2 separate regions of the Homo sapiens genome follow, and region 2 is linked to region 1. The links are contacts of gene promoters, found by promoter capture Hi-C in human tissues and cell types (Jung and others, 2019). All regions are on one chromosome and are shown on one strand. Each heading gives the region's core, a stretch centred on a gene start or on the middle of the fragment in contact. The rest is flanking DNA. Distances are from core to core; before and after follow the strand shown. Region 1 holds the start of CD302 (CD302 molecule). Region 2 overlaps TANC1 (tetratricopeptide repeat, ankyrin repeat and coiled-coil containing 1).

Evidence for each region. Contacts are between HindIII fragments. The study calls those that stand out against the background at their distance.
Region 2: a fragment that was not itself captured here is called in contact with the fragment with the promoter of CD302 in region 1 in 1 of the 25 tissues and cell types used here (lymphoblastoid cells).

What each region holds. Positions count from the first base shown.
Region 1 is chr2:159,793,998-159,800,894 of GRCh38, forward strand. It overlaps CD302 (CD302 molecule), which reads right to left and starts at 4,211. Exons shown (of 6, transcript NM_014880.5): 1 at 4,135-4,211. The coding sequence starts at 4,201. All of the region lies in intron 33 of LY75-CD302 (LY75-CD302 readthrough), which reads right to left. LOC124906083 (a long non-coding RNA gene) reads left to right here and starts at 1,193. Exons shown (of 2, transcript XR_007087273.1): 1 at 1,193-3,955; 2 at 4,822-6,255. The HindIII fragment of the contact is 5,989 bases long and covers 3,085-6,897 here.
Region 2 is chr2:159,203,772-159,210,668 of GRCh38, forward strand. The region is part of intron 19 of TANC1 (tetratricopeptide repeat, ankyrin repeat and coiled-coil containing 1); the gene reads left to right. Among named protein-coding and RNA genes, the nearest start is that of MIR6888, 20 kb to the left of the region's middle. RefSeq lists an enhancer at 6,052-6,271. The HindIII fragment of the contact is 3,711 bases long and covers 509-4,219 here.

The DNA of each region.
Region 1 (6,897 bases), core at 2,961-5,460:
CACCTGTAATCCCAGAGCTTTGGAAGGCTGAGGTAGGAGGATCACTTGAGCTCAGGAGTTTGGGACTAGCCTGGGCAACAAAGTGAGACCCCACCTCTACAAAAAAAAAAAAAAAAAATTAGCAGGGCATGGTGGCATGCACCTGTAGTCCCAGCTACTCAGGGGGCTGAGGTGGGAGGATCACTTGAGCCCAGCAGGTCAAGGCTGTAGTGAGCCATGATTGCACCACTGCACTCTAGCCTGGGTGACAGAGTGAGGCCCTGTCTCAAAACAATAAAATAAAATAAAATAAAATAAAATAAAATAATAAAAAAAAAAACACTAAATAACCCACAGAAGGAATGAAATACTTGATATGCACAATAAAAATTATGGAAAGTAACCTTGCTGCAAAACTAGTTTTCAACACATAAGCAAATTGTTAAAAGATTCTCAACAGTAAAAGAAGTCCTGAAATAATACCTAATTGAAATTTCACTTTTTCATTGGAAGAAAAATAAACATTAACATTTCAAAATTAATTAATTTATTTATTTATTTATTTATTTATTTATTCATTTATTTATTTTGAGACTGAGTCTCGCTCTGTCGCCCAGGCTGGAGTGCAGTGGCGCGATCTCAGCTCACTGCAAGCTCTGTCTCCTGGGTTCACGCCATTCTCCTGCCTCAGCCTCCTGAGTAGCTGGGACCACAGGTGCCTGCCACCACGCCCGGCTAATTTTTTGTATTTTTAGTAGAGACAGGGTTTCACCGTGTTAGCCAGGATGGTCTCGATCTCCTGACCTCGTGATCCACCCGCCTCGGCCTCCCAAAGTGCTGGGATTACAGGCGTGAGCCACCACGCCCAGCTCAAAATTTATTTTAAAATACTCTAATATTTAATCTGAGATAATTTCCCCTGAAACATAACTGTGCCATACACAAGAGTCAGAAAAGGTGGCATCAGGCCGGGCACGGTGGCTCACACCTGTAATCCCAGCACTTTGGGAGGCCGAGGTGGGCAGATCACGAGGCCAGGAGTTTGAGACCAGCCTGGCCAACATGGTGAAACCCCATCTCTACTAAAAATACAAAAGTTAGCCAGGCATGGTGGCGCATGCCTGTAATCCCAGCTACTCGGGAGGCTGAGGCAGGAGAATTGCTTGAACCCAGAAGGTAGAGGTTGCTGTGAGCCGAGATTGCGCCACCGCACTCCAGCCTGGGTGACAGAGTGAGACTCCATCTCGGAAAAAAAAAAAAAGAAAGAAAGAAAAGGTGGCAGCAATAGATTAAGATGATTTAAGGCTTTGAATTCATTATGAAATGAGTGCATAGCAGAGGTAATATAATTTGAAAAAAATTGCAATCCACTTATCCTACCTACTTTTTAAATAACTCACCTAAATTTTTTCATCCTTTTATTATAACTTAGAATAAAGTGCAGAGACACAAATCAAAACAAAACAAAAATCCACAAGATGGTAAAATCTCTGTTATGGAGCTTCTTTCCCCTGGTAAGAGAAGCAACAAGCAAGACAGATGAATAAACACAATGCATTCAGAAAGGCTTGGAAAAGATAAAACATGGACATGTGACAGAGAATGTGGGTGTTCAGGGAGGCTTCGGAGAAGGTGACATATGAACAGAGATCTGAATGGTGGAGGTGGGGGCAGCCATGCCAAGGACTGGGGGAAGGTGGTGTGCACAGAAGGACCAGAGGTGTTGGAGTACCCAGATACTGTTTACTCTGTGGATACACAGAGTGAATGGCAGGAAGGGTGGTAAGAGATGACATCAGGGAAGAAGGCAGAGGCACCTCATCTAAGGCTTGTAGGACATGGCAATTCAAAATCCCTAGATTCTGATCCACATGATGATCACAGAATGAGGACTTACTCGGAACATGCTTGTTCACTCAGCTCATGCCAGGCATAGGAAACCACTGACCAAATAAATACATACTGATCATCTATTATGTGCTTAAGCACCCTTACGGAAAAACTTTTTAAAGCGATGCCATGGATTTTCACTCAGGAATTTAAAGAATGTTTTGTCCACTGTGATTTTCAAAATAATAGCTAAGAACAAGGTTAAGATCACTTCACTAATAACCTCCAGAATGACAGACAATAACAATGATTTCCGTTTCAACATCACATTTATATGCAATACCCATATTTATTATGCAACATCATAAGAGCTTTTCTATTAAGATCTTGGTATTCAGCAACAAACTCTTTCTTGACTTAGTTCTAAGCCAAATATGACCCCTGATCTTGCTTGGATGGGAGATTTGTAAAGTATTATGAAAAACACACTTAGTTTTTCAGCCCTATAACATTAGCATACATATGAATGTGTTCAGTAACCATAAACATCCAATATACATAAGGTGGTATTCATACGTTTTCTGGTTGCAACAATTACCCTTCATTTTGTATGAAGAGAATAAAGGGAAGGAAACCAAGATGAACCACGCCTGTAATAGGGACTAGACGTGGAGTTCCCACTTAATGCTCCCAATAGCCCCATGAGTAAGTATTATCTCTGTTTTACTGAAGTGCAGATAAGTTGGTTAACTAGCTAGGTCAAAGCTCACACTCATTTCCAAATTAATCCTTAAAGCTTCCTGACTGGGAGGAGCTGATTAATTAACATTAATTTATTCATCATGCACTTTTCTAAAGCTCTTGAAAAGCCTATTGATCCACACTGGACTTATCAAAGGAAATGCACAAAAATTTCCAAAGGGAAATTTGCCCTCTATTGCTGGTCAAAACAGCTTCACTGAAGAAGAGACATACCAAAATCTAGAAACTGATTTTCTTTAAAAGTCTGACAAGAAAGAAAAATCTGACAAGAAAATTCGACTAGCCTAAAGTACAAATGCACAGCCTCGCAGAGGGTGGTTTACATGAGAGTTGAGATGTTACTGGCTCGCAAAATGAGGGTGTGCAGAAGGAGGGTTCAGAGACAGCCCAGCTTTGTCTTAGACAAAATTAATGTTCCCAGTCTGAACAATGTGAACATGGGCACATCTTGTTTCTGCCCCTTTGATAGGCAGCAGATGTCACAACCAGTCATAAATGCAGGTCCACAGAAGTTTTCAAGAAAGGAACCTTGGGTTTGTATCCAAGTTCTGAGCTGCTGCTGCCTCCAACACTGAGGTCCACTGAAATATTCCTGTCAGTAGACTTCGAGCAGGCAGTTATTATAAAAACGCAGTGAAATCTGGGGCAAGGGGTGGGGGGGGGGAATCTCTTGCATTTTATTTAAATCTCTTGCACTTTATTTAAGCCCACACAAGTACTCATTTAGTTCTTGTTTATTTTGCTCTTTAATTCCTGGAATTATTCAGTCAGTGGTGTTTTTGGAAGTCTGTGTTCTCCAGAGTCTCCCCATCCACATATTTTTGACATGCTTGTATGGAAATTTTTTAAAAATAAAGACCACGGTCAATAGAATTGTGCATTTTCCTCACGAGTCGTTTTGTAAATGAATGATCACGTGTGTGATTTTTCAGATGTCACTTGCACAACAGCAGACTAGAACTTTAAAACTCCTTGATTTCAGTGAAATCCAAGCTTTGCCTATTCCCGTTCCTCTTCCATCCAGGGGTTATTTGGCTGAACTGTTTTCCTGTTTAAACAACTTGAACACCAACCAACTAGACAAACAGCGCTGCTTGCAAAAGAGGGCCTACTTCCTCCGGCCCCCACCCCCATCCCAGCAACCCCACTCCGGCCGCGCACCAGCAGGGGAAATCGCCACCAACGTCCCCGCTTCTCATTTCAGCCCGAAATTGCCCTGAAACGGCGCCCGTCGTGCGACTCCAAGTCCCTCAGTTCTCCGGCCAACTGGCCTAATTTGGGGGTTCCCTCCCCGCGGAGTGGGGTCTGCGGTGAGGATGTGGACTCCGAGGAAGACAGAGCCCTCCCTTATTCTCGGCCACCTCCCCTCCCCGAGGGCAGGCGGGTGAGAGGTGACCCGGAGCCAGGACCCACGGGGGACGGGCGTGCAGGGAAGGGCGGGATGGCCGGCCGGGTGTTGCGTCTGCGGGCCGCCCTCGGGTGCGCGGGGACGAAGAGCGTGCGTTGGGAAGGGGGCGAAGGCGGTCGCGCACGGTCCCGGCGAGGGACTACGTAAGGGCTTACCCGCGACGGCAGCAGCGGCGAGGCCCAGCAACGGCAGCAGGAGCGCGGGCAGCGCGGCCCGGAGCATGACGGCGGGTGCGGGTGGGCGGCAGCGGCTGCGCGGCCGGAGAGGAGCGGGGCGGGGCGGGAGCGGGGGCGGTGCTTCTCGCGTGCGAGTTTAATCCCCCCCCCGGGCGGAACGTGAACGGCACTGGGGGCTCCCACCAGGAGAACCCGGGTGTCCCGTCCCGCAGGAGCGGCTGGCGCGCGGCCTTCTGGAACTTCTAATTTTTGTTTTTTAAACTTTTCATTTGAATTGAAATAATTTAGGACTTTCGAAAATGTTGCAAAAACAGCACAAGAGATTTCCGTAACCCTTCAGCCAGCTTCTCTAAATATTGACATTGTATATAACGCCAGTGCAGTGATCAAACACAGGGCACTCGCACTGGGATAATGCGATTAGCTAATCTACAGCACTTACCACATTTCATTAATTGCCCCTCTAAGGGTCCTTTTCTGTTCCAAGATTCAATCCAGGATCATACATTGCATGTCGTGTCTCCTTAGTCTCCCTTTAATCTAGGACGGTTCTCTGTCATTCTTTTTCTTTCACGATCAAACCACATTTAAAAAGTACTGGCCAGTCGTTTTGTAGAATGTCCCTCAGTTTCATTTTGTCTGACATTTCCTTCTAATTGGATTCAGGTTGCGCTTTTTTGGGAAAGAGTTCCCCAGAAGTGATGTACGTGCTCGAGAAGGACAAGATGTCGATGTCTCATCACTGATGTTAACTTGGATCAGTTGGTTAAGGTGGCGTTTGCCAGCCTTCTTCTTTGGATCTACTGGCCAGAATCCTCCTTTTCAAAGACCCCTTTCAGTGGACTATGTCTCTTAGACAACTTTTCTCTGTTACCAGCTCCTGGATGAAGAGTCTTTAAGCTATGTTTGCTACAATGTATGCATAAACTGTGCAATTATACTTCACCCATGAGGGCCTCTGGACAACACTAGCCAGGGTCAAGCAAGGGTGCTTGTTTAAGCCTCATGTCATTGGCAAAAGAGTTCTATAAAATCAAGTCTAAACTCAACAACGTGAAAACAAATGACCCAGTTAAAAAAAATGGTCAGATGATCTGAATACACACGTCATCAAAGAAGTTATATAATGGCAAATAGATGAAAAGATGCTCAACATCATATGTCATTGCTGAATTGTATATGAAAACAAAAATGAAATACCACTACATACCTATTAGATACCAGAATCCAAAAACACTGACAAGACCACATGCTGGCAAAGATGTGGAGCAAAAAGAACTCTCATTCAATGCTGGTGCAAATGCAAAATGGTACAGCCACTTTGGAAGACAATTTGGAAGCTTCTTCCAAAACTAAACGTACTCTTACCATACCATCTAGCAATCACAACTCCTTGGTATTTATCCAAATGAGTTAAAAACTTACATACACACAAAAACCTGCACATGAATGTTGATAGCAGCTTTATTCATAATTGCCAGAACCTAGAGGCAAACAAGATGTCCTTCAATAAGTGAATGGATAAACAATGGCACATCCAAACAATGAAATGTTACTCAGTACCAAAATTAAATGAGCTATCAAGCCACAAAAAGACATGGAAGAACTTTAAATATGTATTGCTAAGAGAAAGAAGCCAATCTGAAAAGACTGCATACTATATGATTCCAACTATATGACATTTTAGACAAGGCAAAACTATGGAGACAGTAAAAAGATAAATGGTTGCCAGGGGTTGGGGTGGGAAGAAGGAGGGGATGAATAGATGGAACACAGAGGATTTTTAGAGCCATGAAATTATTCTGTAGGATACTGTAATGGTAGATGTGTATCACTATACATGTGTCAAAACCCATAGAATGCACAAAACGAAGATGAACCCTAGTGTGGACAATGGACTTTAGTTAATAATGTGTCAATATTGGCTCATCCACTGTAACAAATGTACCTGCTAATGCAAGATGTTAATAATTGGGGAAACTGGGGTATGTGTAAGGAGGTACATGGGAGCTCTGTACCTTCTGCTACATTTTTTGTATACATCTAAAACTGCTCAAAAATTAGTCTATTTTTAAAAAAATAAAATCTGACCCTTTCCAACTCTTTCTAACCCTTTCCACACTTCTGATAATCCAGAGTGGTTACACCAAGGAAATTTGACCCAAGGGGTCTATAAGGAGAGTCATAGAGTGTTAGAAGTGGTACTAGTAAGGAAATTGAGTGACCCAAAGAAGGGATGTGATTCCCCCGTGGGCTCACAGAGAATGCCAACAAATGAACCAGAGCCCAGCTCCTCTGCTGGACTCTCCCACCTATTCCAGGTTCTGCCCCTTTGCCAAAGTATTAAGGTCTTGCTTAACTTATTTACTTCCATTTTTCTTCTCAGGCTGCCAATACTGAGTTTATTATATACCAAACTCCAGACCAGAGCAAATCCTTCCAAAGATACTCTATATTGGAATATTGACACATCTTGATTCTGGACCCTTTTGCCCTCCTAACTACAGAAGTAAAATGAACAGTTCTAAGCAATCATGTAATTGTGAAAGTTATCTCTTCCACCCCCACCTCAGGCACCAAAGTATATTTTATCAATGTGGTTTTGTGTTAAGCTACTTTTCAAATATTTTTATATTTACAATAGAATTGACATCCTAATGAATCAATCTAATTAAGGCAAAACCCATTTTAACACTGTCATTTTAAGTCATTTGTACTAAAGAAAATTATATTATTTTATTG
Region 2 (6,897 bases), core at 1,114-3,613, 590 kb before region 1:
TCGCCATGTTGCCTAGGCTGGTCTCAAACCCCTGGGCTCAAGCAGTCCTCCTGACTCAGCCTCCCAAAGTGCTGGGATTACAGGCATGAGCCACCACACCCAGCCAGTCATGGGCTTTGTGAAGGCAGAAATTTCCCTGTCTCTTGTCCACACCATTGTGTATGGCAACCGTCCGTTCTAGTGCTGCCCAATAGAACTTTCCGTAATAATGGAAGTGGTGTCTGTTTTGTCCAGCATGGTAGCTACTAGCCACATGTGGCTATTGAGTACTTGAAATGTGACTTGTGCAACTGAGGAACAATAGTTTAAAATCTCATCTTAATTTATCTAAATTACATGTGACAGGTGGCCACCAAATTGGACAGTGCAGGTATAGCCTGGTCCTTGTCATATAGGTATTGACCAAGTGGACAAGTGGATTTAAATGAAACAAAGTCATATTTTTAGTGAGGGAGATGTTCACTTGCAGAATAATTTGGGAGAAATACCTGTGGTTGGAGGGGGAGCAGTAAGGGGCCTGGTCACTCATAAAGACCCAGTGTCCTGATTTCTTGGTGTCCTAGCTCAGACCATGCTCTGTTGGACTCCAAGATGGCTCAGATCCTCTCGCCAAGTCCTCGGTGGGGCACCTGTGCTGAAGGCATGGTGGGCTGCTGGTTTGGATCTTTGGGAACACAGCTAATAGCCAAGCATGGTGTGGGCATAGCCCCATCTGTGTCCATAACATCTCCCTCTCTGCAGCCTGGGTGTGCTGTGTCCTCATGCTGGTCTCTGGCAGTCGTCCTGCCCTGTCGTGGTCACCTCCTCAGAGGTCCTTCTGTTTGAAAGAAGGTCGCCAGCACACCCAGAGCCCCATGCTTCATGCACAGGACGCTGGCGGCTCCCCAGGGCTACGCTTCCCTAATTTCTGGAAGGGGATGCCCTATCGGAGTTGGTTAAAAGTGTGACTGAAATACTTCATGTGAAGTGTTTTTATGTTAAGTCAGTAATATTTTAATTGTTGAATACTTTCTAAAGGAGTTTAGTCAGGTAAATAATTTTTATTGTCAAAGCTACTATTTGCCTCTGTTCAGATGGGCCAGATTTTCTCCGCTGTGAATTGAATGGGCTATTTAGCTGCGTCGTAGGCCTCCCTTTGTGTAGCGCATTGAAGCAATTCCACTTGGCATGTGTGCTCACCGTAGTTTACTGTTCACTAATTCTGGATGGAATTTTGGACAGAACCTGCTCCCTCTGGATCTTGAGCCTCAGGCAGTGCCCTGCAGCTGGGGTGGGTGTTTCCAGGCCCCTCTTGGGGGTGGGGTCCTCACACCTGTTTCCAAATTGGGCTGCGAAGCTGGGTCCTGTTGTATTTGACACTTTGATGATTTTCGTTTCCCTCTTGTTTCCATGGGACTGCTTTCCTTTCCCCTTTTGTGGCTCTTTTGGCTTCAGTCACAGGGAGGCCCCAGGCGTGGACGGTGGGCTTCCCACATCCAAGGCTGCCCCAGAGCACAGGGAGCTGGATGCCTAATTACTGTTGGTGTAAAAATGACCCGTTCTTCATTTGAATTTACCTTAGGCATTTTGGAGAGAGAAGGGGCTGTTCTTTGGTAAGAATGTAAAATAAATGTCAGGCCTACTGGATTGAGCCTTGCAGTCACATATACAGCCATCCCCCACATAATGATGTTTCTGTCAGCGATGGACTGCATGTGAGAAGGTGTTCCCATACAATACTGTGTCTTTATTTTTTCTATGTTGCTACTTTTTCTATGTTTTGTTACACAAGTACCACCGTGTTACAGCTGCCTACAGTATCCACTACAGTAACAGGCTGTACAGCTTAGCAGTTTAGGAGCAAAAGGCTGTACCATATAGTCTAGGCATGTAGTAGGCTACACCATCGAAGTTTGTGTAAGTCCACTATGTGGTATTAGCACAATGATACAATCACCTAACGACTCATTTCTCAGGATGCATCCCTGTCATTGATGATGTGTGGCCTTTCTCAGGAAGTATCCACCTCATTAGGTGATGCATGCACATCTCAGGACAGAATTTCAGGTGAGAGATTGGAAGGAAAGCGTTTGCCCATGGCTTGTTGGGGCATGTGGAGAATATGTGTTACATGGAACGCACATGGAGGATGCTGTAGAGAAAACTGCGACTTGCTGTCGTACACTGAAGATACTGGATTTTTCAGAGGTCCTGAGCATCTCACCAGTACTGGTTTTGGAAATTTTTTATCAAGGCATTCCTTCCTCTGCAAGTGTTTGTTCTAAGAAGGTTCAGTAAGATTAGTGGGCATGGAAGTCCAGACTGCTGTCAGTCAGAACTATCCTCGGCAAAGCAACACGATGGGGAGTAAGCCAGTACCCTCAAGGGTGCGTGGGAGGGACCACCCAGGATCCTGAAAGGAGCAAGATGGGGTGGGGTGACCCTGTGCCCTGTAAGGGGAGGGACAAAGTGGGGTTACCAACATGGAAGGGGTAACAGGGCTCTGGATGGAGGAGGATGTGTATGGGGGTCCTCCAAACAGTGGAGGCAGATAGGGGATCAGAACTGAGGGGGCTGGGTTTGTCCATACCCTATCCTCCTGGTCTCACAGACCCCTGGGTTTTGCCCCTGATGTGGGTGGGTTCCGGAGACCACTCCTCTCTGCGAAGAAGGCAGAGGGGTCAGGTCAGCATGTCCCCGCCCTGTAGGGCAGGCTGAGTGGCCAGCAGTGAGCAGGTAGAAACCCAGGGGTGGTGTCTCAAGCACGAACAAATTAGCCCCTTGACCACCTTCATCAAGCTGTTCTTGCTGTACAGAGTCCATTTTTCTAGTGAGTGATTCCTGAGTATTTAATAAAAAATACTTCTGCCTTCAACAGAAAAATGTATTCATTCATATTTTGGGAAGGATTACACTCCCACAGAAAAATCATCCTTGTTTCTTCTTGAAATGATATTTGGATTCTTTCTGTGTTTTGGGGGCCAGATGTGAGGTTGTGTAAAATGCTTTTGTGGAAATGCCCCCTTTTTACACTGAGACCTCATGTGGTGTCCTGGCATGTAATGAAGTCCTCAGCACAAGCTTAGCCCTTACCGAGAGGAGAGAGAGAACCTTATGCCTGCTTTAAATAACTTGGTGTGTAACCCAGCCTTCCACATGCGAACATTCTCAGCACACTTTAGAAGTGACAGCTGTCCAAAGGTCCGGTCTTCTCATGGATTCTTAGAAGAACAAAGTCTGTATGAAAGATGGCTTATGTTGTTGATCTTTTAGGAAATTATTTTTAAATTGAGGTTACATTATTTATAGCACACACATTATTCCTCAAAGGATTTGAAGAGACTTACTTGAAATGATGCAGATAAGAACTTTAAAACACTAAGTCAGGAATAGGACATGAGGAACCGCTCAAACATTCGTGCCATGGCATACTAAATTGAGCTACTACTGTGGCTGTGGAATGCCATGTGGCCAGAATTAGAGGGGAACACAATCCTTGTAAACCATTTTTATTGTCCATGGGAGAAATCGCAGCAGTTCCTCAGAAAAAGAGAAGCACTTTCTGGTACTTTCATTCTAAACAACTCTCATAGAAGGCTGTTGGATGCTTTAGATATTTTTAAAGGTGACTTCCTGGAGGCAGCATTGTAGGAGCTAAGAACTCAGACTGGCCAGGTCCAGTGGCTCACGCCTGTAATCCCAGCACTTTGGGAGACTGAGGCGGGTGGATCACGAGGTCAGGAGTTCAAGACCAGTCTGGCCAACATGGTGAAACCCCGTCTCTACTAAAAATACAAAAACTAGCCAGGCGTGGTGGCGGGTACCTGTAATCTCAGCTACTCAGGAGGCTGAGTCAGGGAATTCCTTGAACCCAGGAGGCAGAGGTTGCAGTGAGCCGAGATCGCGCCACTGTACTCCAGCCTGGGCGACTGAGCAACACGTGTCTCAAAAAAAAAAAAAAAAAAAAAAAAAAAAAACAACTCAGACTTAGCCACACTCCCTCTAGCTGTGGGACCTTAAGTAAGTGGTTTAATTTCGGAGGCTTATTTTCCTCATCTGTAACAGAGAACTAAGAGTAGTGCTTGCCTCATAGAAGTTGATTGTGTTCACTGAATTTATGAATATGGAGGACCAAGAGCATCGTGTAGGCAGCCCTTTACAAATGGCATGGTATGTTATTTAAATCCAATAGCATCTTCCTGTTTTAATCAAGAGCATGACTTCAGGTCCATTCAGTTGCTTGGGTTAAATTTCTGATACTGACACTGATTCCCTTTGTGATTTGGGGCAGATGATATAACCCCTGTGACTCAGTTATTTCACCTCAGTAACATGGGCATCATCATGACACCTGGTTCAAAAGGTTCTTAACAAGATTAAATGAGAATCCACCCAGGGTATTTTGTGCAGCTCTCAGCAGTTGATACGTGTTGATACAATGCTATGTATTGTCAGGGTTGTGATAAGTTGATTAATATTATTAATATAATATGTTAATGTATGCTATACATTTGTCAGTTGAATAAGTGGATGTATAAGTGATGGAATCTTCAATTTTGCAATTACTTTGGAAGATGGAGTCATAAGTGAAGGATGGAAAAGAAAGGAATTTTGATCACACACATGAAGTCCTGTTTACAGGTGCAGTTACACATTTTATTTTTTAAAAGAAGTTGGCAATTTGAGGTTCCTGTTTAATCTTGAATGCACATACAGGCTGACAGTGTTTTTACAGTAGAGTTTGTAACATGGTCAGGAGTGTTCTGGTTACCCAGATTTGGATTCTGCCCTGTATTCACCTCTGTTAGATAGCTCGGTGAAAATGGGTTCATGTCTGTCGGCAGAGGGAGCCACATTTTTCCATGATGCTTGGTTGATGCCTGTTGCCTTATAACACAGAATCCCCATACTTGGCTCCAGCCAGGCTGCTTCTGCAGGCCCCATCATGGCCATTGGGAGATCTGGCCCTCCTGGGAGAGTTTTGCCAATGGGAAACAATAAGGAAGGTGTTCAAAACCACAACTTTTTAAATTCGTGCATGAGATAGTTCTGAGAGATGCATCCTTAGGCGATTTGGTCATTGCGTGAAAATCCTCCAGTGTACTTACACAAGCCTGGATGGCACAGCCTATTGCTCCCAGGCTCCAAGCCTGTACAGCATATTGCTGTACTGAATACTGTAGGCAGCTATAACACAAAGGTAAATACTTGTGTGTCTAAACATGTCTAAACATAGAGAAGGTATAAAAATATGGTATTATCATCTTATGAGACCACTGTGCTATTGTATACGCAGTCTGTCGCTGACTGAAACATCATCACACAGCATGTGACTGTACCTGGGCAGTGCTGGCTTCCATTTGTGAGGTCACTGAGCAGCAGCGCCCCAGCCTGCAGAAGCTTCAGTTGAGGCTGGCAGTGTTGGAGGCTTGTCCCAGACACCAAGGCTTGGGGTGTTTGTCTCCCAGTGCAAGTACAGTTTTCTGGAAGAGCCATCTTGATTACCTTTCATTTTATCCTTTAAATTGTTGAGGATTAGGTTAGATAACTGCCTTGTCTTTGTAGAGGTGAAAAATTTATAGCTCTTGGAAAGTATGTTCTTCTTTCTAATAGAAGCCTTCCCCTCGCTCAGAGACGGGAGGAAATGCCTAACAAAGAACACAGTGAAGCTATGAAATTTGGCTTCTGTAAATCTTAGTCCTATTTCTAGAAGGTGGGGCGGGGAGGCAAGGCACATTGCCTGGCCTTTTGGGGAAAGGTTGCTGCTTTCAGCCAGGGAATGTGGGGGCCAGCTTCCCTGAGGCCCTCAGTGTGACGGCCGAGCTCCCAGTGGCAGCAAAGCGAGCCTGACCGGTCAGCCGCCATATAGCCACTTAGAGTCAGTTACCAAGGCAGGGTGGGCAGTCATTCCCAGAGTTTAAAAAAAAGAAAAAATCCTAAAATCCCTCATTACATTTTACCATTGAGATAAAGTAGCTGAGAAATGTGCAGTGTGTCAGGCACACTCTTTCCTGGTGTTCTCTGCCTTTACAGTTGAGCAGGGTGTGGCCATCGGGCCTGCCACTGAGGGTCAAGCATCACTGCCTTCACCACATCTCACAGTTCTCACCTTGGCCACAATTAGATGACATTTGTGAGGACCCTGCTGCTTTCAATTAATGTTGACACTCATTTTTTTCATTTTCCACTCATTTTTTAAAATATGGGAGAGGCCAGGATAATAGGAAGTAAATTGCACATGTGAATACAAGCAAGTAAATTGCACATGTGAATATAAGCATACAAGCAGAGCCCAGCCGCCCTGCCCTGCCCTGCCCGCAGTGCCCTCTCAGCTAGCAGGAAGTGGGTTCTGCAGGTACAAGCTGTTCTCTGGAGGTACTCAGTTCCAGTTTGCAGAATGGTTTTCATACATCCGTGGGTAATGCATGAAAAGGTCATAGTCTGCCAGCGGGAAGCAGCTTCTGTGTGCGCTGACCCTGCCGCCCTTCTCTCCAAGCCCCCAAGTTGGGTCCAAAAGCAAATGTGGGTGGGAATACAGACCCATTGTTGTGATCTGTAAGCCAAGCGATCCTGAGCCTGGGGAGCACATCCTGTGAATTTGAGTGACAGATCTGCTTTAAAATTTTAGGAATAGCCCTGTTTGTGGAATGACTGTGTCCCCGGCAAGTTGACAATTGAGTTTTTGCAAATCAAATCTTTTCCCAGAGAACTTTAATATATAAGAGATTCCTGCAAACCATCCATTTTATGGTGCAAAAAGCTCTCTCACTGCTGTTTCCAATACGTTCAGATTGTTGTCAGGTTTTGTTTGTTTGTTTGTTTTTTGTTTTTTTTTGAGATGGTGTCTTGCTCTTTCACCAGGCTGGAGTGCAGTGGCGAGATCTCGGCTCACTGCAAGCTCTGCCTCCTGGGTTCAAG